2 separate regions of the Homo sapiens genome follow, and region 2 is linked to region 1. Evidence: promoter capture Hi-C in 16 types of primary human blood cells and fetal thymus (Javierre and others, 2016). All regions are on one chromosome and are shown on one strand. Each heading gives the region's core, a stretch centred on a gene start or on the middle of the fragment in contact. The rest is flanking DNA. Distances are from core to core; before and after follow the strand shown. Region 1 holds the start of PSMB1 (proteasome 20S subunit beta 1). Region 2 has its middle 2.3 kb from the start of SLC17A5.

Region 1 (2,986 bases), core at 228-2,727:
TTCATGAGGATTAAATAAGATGACAGCTTGCAATTTACAAAATGCATCTCTCTTGATTCTCACCAAAAACTATGAAGCTACTAAGGAAGATAAGGAAATTTAGGTTCAAGAAGTTCAGAAGTACCCAAAGTGTCCTTTAGTGGCAGAACCAAGGCTAAAATCAGACTTTCGTTATCTTTCTAACACACTCCCAAAATGTGCATTTATATTTCAAATTTATGAGGAACCAATTAACATTTTTGCTTTGTTTTTAAAATTTATTTTTGTAGAGATGGGGTCTTGCTATGCTGCGCAGGCTGGTCTTCAACTCCTGGCCTCAAGCGATGATCCTCCTGCCTTGGCTTCCCAAAGTCCTGGGATTACAGGTGCGAGCCACACTGCCCAGCCAATATTTTCTGTTTTAAGAACCATCGGTTCGTTCAAATTGCGTGTGTATATTTTAATGTACAAGGCTTGATTGGTAACTATAACCACTGTTTCAATTTACAGCTCTTCCCTGTCAAGAGTCTTAAACAGAGCATCTTTCTATAACCCTAAATCTCTGGCGTGCCACCACGGAAAATTATACTACTCAAGATAAAGCTGGTAATTAAAATAAAAACCAAAACTTGAACATAACATACAAGAACACACATACTAAAAGGTCCATCTTCTGAGTATTTTGTTTTCCTGAACTTAAGCTAAACGTTAAAAAAAAAAAGCACTTATCTATGAAACTAAGTTTGCTCAGCCAATCCCACCTTCTATTTGAAATAAAACAAAATGATTAAACTGCTACAATTAGAAATAACAGAAATCAGGCGGCTACAATTAGACATCTCGGCTACCAACCCAGCTATGCATCTAACAACACAGACCAAACAACCCTAACTTTTAAGTTTCAGACGCTAACCCTCTACCCTCGCCGGCTGGCATAAGAAACGTGTACATGAGGTCCAGTTTTAATGGTCTTCCACAGAGCAGAGGCTATGTTTCAATTTCTACTTTACTGTCTTACAGCAGCAAGGAGCACGGAGTGGCGGTCCACATAAAAACTCAAATGACATGACTGTAATGGGAAACCCTAAAAACCAAGGCTGTATCGCAATCACCAAGTAAACTTGAGCAAAGCGAGCCTGAAGAGGGAAACACAGGGCATGAGAGGACGGCAGGGAGACCGGCCTTGTGCGGACCCCCTCAGCTCAGGGTTCTGAGGCCTGCAGGAGCCCGGGGCAGCGCCATCACGGCGGTGACTCCTAAATAGGCTTCAGCAGATGGGGGAAGGGCGAAAGTGAAAGCCGCAGCTCTCTGGGGTTTTTACCCTCCGTTGAAAACGTAGGGCGAAAATCGCAGCTGCAAAGGGCCCGCGGCTCTGTGCGGTTCCATCCCCAAGTCTCTGCCAGGAGCCGAATACATGGCTGTAGAGGACAACATCGCACGGCTGCGCCTGCGGATCCGACACTTGCTGTCTCACGGCGAGATGGCTGCCTTGACCGGACGTTACGCCACTTCCGGCTTCTCCTGAAGTTCGCTCCCGGCCTCTCTATCTCACGCTAGTCGTTGCTCCTGGAGGGCTGCACGGCGGCTTGTCCCTTTGGTAGTTGAATCCCGCCCATTCCAAAAAGCGCTGACAGGGATGTAAAGGGTTTTTTTTGTTTGTTTTTTGTTTTTTTCCCCCTCGAAGAAAACATTGGAATTCACCCCAATGGACAAAAATTTAAGTCTGACCATACAAAAAAATTGTCAGAACTATGGCGCAACGGCAACTCGAATAACGGTGGGAACGTTAATTGTCCTGGCTAATAAAAAATGTATATAACATTTCCTATCCTTAAAGAGCTCACAACCTCACTGATAATAAAAAGTACAAAGAAAACAAGCAGTATAACATATGATTACGCCACAATGAACTACAGAAGGGAAAATCAAGGCGTGCTGAAGTCCCACTAAGAAACAACTGCGGAAAGAGCCATGTGACAACAGTGCATGAACTGGGAGTGGCAGAACTGAATATAAATGCATGTGTAAACACAAGCTGTTTGTTTTGCTTAGTGTTCCTTGTCATTCTACACGCTTGAAGATCAGCTAGCGTTCTTGCTGACAGGTAAGGAGGACGCGCTTACTGAGTGCCAAGCACTGCTCAGGCACTGATTCTGTCAATCTCTGTCAATCTCCCGACAGCCCAAGGGTAAGCACTGTTATCATTATTCAATTTTACAGAAAAAAAATGCGGGGGAGAGGTCAGGTAACTTGTCGAAGGTAACGCCGCTAGTTGCTTTAAACAACAACAACAACAACAACAAAACACACTCACACATATACACACACACGCCATTTAAAAATCGATCTTTCCTACGTCCAGCAAGGGCCAATTAGAGATGGCTGTGGCACGGCGGCCCCGCCCCGGAACTCCTCAAGAGCTTCGCCCCTCCTTACCTATGGAAACACAGGAAGTGACCTATGCTCACACTTCTCATGGCCTCGGCCCTAGTGGGAGCAACTCGCTGAAGCCGAGGGCAGAACTGGCGGAAGTGACATTATCAACGCGCGCCAGGGGTTCAGTGAGGTCGGGCAGGTTCGCTGTGGCGGGCGCCTGGGCCGCCGGCTGTTTAACTTCGCTTCCGCTGGCCCATAGTGATCTTTGCAGTGACCCAGGTAACAGATTGTACTCTTTTCTGACGGTTCGGGCGAAGGCCACCACTGCACTGAGGCCTGGGGGCAATGGTGGGGAAGAGACTAGGAATTGGCGCGCGTGCAGGCCCCTCGGGGGACGTTCCTCCCTTTCGTGCTGCCGCCGTTCCGGCCTGTAACGGCCACTCGGCCGCCACTCCCGCCTGGTGCCCTACTCTGCTGTGTTTCGCAGGCAGCTTCCCATCGTACGATTGTGGGGCTCAGGGTACTACTGGCTGGCTGGGCGGCGGCAGGCGGGACAGGACAGTCCCTTGCATCGAAGACCCTAAGTTTACCCTGCCCTGTCCTGCCATCCGCTTCTTCTCCATGTTAGAAG
Region 2 (2,986 bases), core at 154-2,653, about 97 Mb before region 1:
AATTTGTTGAGTCCTATGATGTTGCTGGTTTTATAGGTAAAAGTAATCAACATAGGTAGTTTCATATGGTTCGACCTATGGAATCCTCTGATGTATGTGTGCATGCTTTATCTCCACGATAGAATTTGGATAGATTGTGCTAGCATTTGCGGACTCTGAAAGTGAAACTAGGAAAACCCAGCTTGCCTTGGCAGGGCAGATCTGGATCCGCCAATAAAGGCTGTCTCTGTGGAGGTAGAAAATAAGATGTAGATGCTCTCGGAGAGTTTGGTGTAGACAGGGAAGACCCACAAGCCACTAATTCAGTAAACCAGGTTAGAAGCTTAGTGAGGTTCACGTGAGAACAAAGGGGAGGGTCCTTTACCTAGAAGGGAGGGCGAGGATTTCTGTAGGCATCCCTACCTCCAGATCAGTAAATGCTAGAAAAGTTCTCAAGTTAAAGCAGCAAATCAAGCCTTGTTTCTGAGTTACTGAATTACCATGTAGATTTTTACACTCTCTAAGGGTTGTAGAAAAATGCAATTTTCAAACTGGATTATGCAGAGTCACCTGGCAAATCCTTTTAAAATGTAGATTCAGATTCAGCAGATCTGGTGTGATGGTTAATTTTATGTGTTAACTTGCTGGTTGTCTTTGGATGAGGTTAACACTAAAATCATTGAACTCTGGGTAAAGATGGCTGCCTTCCATAATCTGGGTGGGCTTCCTTCAATCAGTTGAAGGCCTATCTAGAATAAAAAATCCGACTCCCCCACTTCTCTTGCCCAAGCAAGGGAGACTTCTCCAGCAGAGTGTCCTCAGACTTCATCTGCACCACAGGTCCTCCTGGGTCTCCAGGCATGTGCACCATCATCTGTTTTGGGTCGAGTTGGCCAGCCTATATTGTGAAAGCCAAAACTTTATTACCCAAACTACCCAATTGGGGCTGTTTCTCTGAGAAGCCCAGTACATCTGGGATGTGCCTGAGATTCTGTATTGCTAACAAGCTCCCAGATGACCAAGGTTATAGATAACTTGGGCCAGGGAATATAGTTGCAACAGACTTGAAAGACTTCAAACCAGAGGAATTCTTTTTTTTAATATTTTTTATTTTAGAAATTTTAGGTTTACATAAACGTTGCAAAGATAGTACAGTGAGTTCTCCATACCCTTTGCTTAGTTTGACCTATTATTAAGATCTTACATTAGTATCATGCATATATCATAACTAACGAGCCAGTATAGATAATTATTAACTGAAGTTCATACTTAATTTGCGTTTCTTTAATTTTTACCTAATATCCTTTTTCGGTCCCAGGATCTCATCCAGGATGCCACATTACATGTCTCCTTAGGCTCCTCTAGATCGACAGTTCCTGACTTTCATTGCTTTTGCTGACCTTGACAGTTTTGTAGAGTACTGGTAGGTTTTGTAGAAAGTGTCTTAATTTGGGTTGTCGAATTTTTTTTTGAGACGAGGTCACGCTCTGTCGTCCAGGCTAGAGTGCAGTGGCACGATCTCGGCTCACTGCAGCCTCCACCTCCCAGGTTCAAGCGATTCTCCTGCCTCAACGTCCCGAGTAGCTGGGACTATAGGTGCATGCCACCACGCCCGGCTAATTTTTTGTATTTTTAGTAGAGATGGGGTTTCACCATGTTAGCCAGGATGGTCTCCATCTCCTGACCTCCTGCCTCAGCCTCCACCTGCCTCAGCCTCCCAAAGTGCTGGGATTACAGGCATGAACCACCACCCCCGGCCTGAATGTTTTTCTTATAATTAGACTGGGGTTATGGATTTTTGAGGGAAAGGTCATAGAGGTAAAGGGCCATTCTCATCATGTAATGTCAAGGGAATGTGCTGTCAACTTATTTATCACTGATGTTTATCAGTAGTGATGGTAAGCCTCATTGCATGCCTGAGGTTGTGTTTGTCAGGTGTTTTCACTGTGAAGTTAACTCTTTTCCCCCGGCCTTACTTTTCTCTTTGGAAGGAAATCAGTATGTGCAGCCTTCACTTAAGGGGTGGGGAGTTATCTATACTCCACCAGTTTCAGGGGAAGAATTCTTTTGTTTGGGAGATTTGTTTATTCTCCTACATTTATTTACTTATTCAATCATTTATTTTTATTAGTATGATGTCATGGTTATTATTTTATACTTTGGGTTATACTCCCAACACTATGTTATTTATTTTGTTGCTCAAATTGTTCCAGCTTTGGTGACTAAGAGCTCTTTCAGTTGGCTCTTGTGTCTTGCATGCCTCCATTGTTGTGTTTTTTGAGCATTCCCTTACTTTCTGGTACAACAAGATGTTCCAGGCTCATCTTGTGTATTCTCTACCCCTGCCATTTCTATAAGGAGAATGATATTACAAACTAACATCTGAGCATTGGGTGTACTTCTTCCTATTGCAGTGTCATTGATTCTAGGTTCAGAGGAGGTACTTTGGTTTTTGTTTTTATAATCTTCCCAAGAAGATTTTGAGACAGGATCTTACTCTGTCACCTAAGCTTGAGTGCAGAGGTGTGATCACGGCTCCCTGTAGGCTCCACCTCCTGGGCTCAAGTGATCCTCCTACCTCAGCCTCCCTGGTAGCTGAGACCACAGGCATGTGCCACCACGCCCTGCTAATTTAAAAACATTTTTGTTAGAGACAGGGCCTCCCTGTGACGCCCAGGCTGGGCTCAAGCAGTCCTCCTGCCTTGACCTTCCAAAGTATTGATATGATAGGTGTGAACCACTGTGCCTGGCCCCAAGAAGATTAAAAAAAAGTATGATGACACATTTTTTCCCCCTTATATCTGGCATTTATTTCCTGATTGCACACTACCATAAAAGATCATTGTTGGTGTTATTTATTTATTATTATTATTATTTTGAGACAGAGTTTCACTCTTGTTGCTCAGGCTGGAGTGCAGTGGTGCAATCTCAGTTCACTGCAACCTCCTGGGTTCAAGCGATTCTCCTGCCTTAGCCTCCGGAGTAGCTGGGATTACAGGCGCCCACC

Evidence for each region. Contacts are between HindIII fragments. The CHiCAGO score rates a contact against its expected background, and 5 or more counts as called.
Region 2: a contact is called between a fragment that was not itself captured here and the fragment with the promoter of PSMB1 in region 1, in 2 of 17 cell types (activated CD4 T cells and total B cells). The highest score is 9.0, in activated CD4 T cells.

Annotation. Positions count from the first base shown.
Region 1 is chr6:170,551,830-170,554,815 of GRCh38, forward strand. It overlaps PSMB1 (proteasome 20S subunit beta 1), which reads right to left and starts at 1,478. Exons shown (of 6, transcript NM_002793.4): 1 at 1,301-1,478. The coding sequence starts at 1,413. It overlaps TBP (TATA-box binding protein), which reads left to right and starts at 2,540. Exons shown (of 8, transcript NM_003194.5): 1 at 2,540-2,634. RefSeq lists enhancers at 1,231-1,610, 2,421-2,810. The HindIII fragment of the contact is 7,721 bases long and covers 1-2,986 here.
Region 2 is chr6:73,654,828-73,657,813 of GRCh38, forward strand. No RefSeq gene overlaps it. Among named protein-coding and RNA genes, the nearest start is that of SLC17A5, 2.3 kb to the left of the region's middle. RefSeq lists an enhancer at 280-369. The HindIII fragment of the contact is 2,167 bases long and covers 321-2,487 here.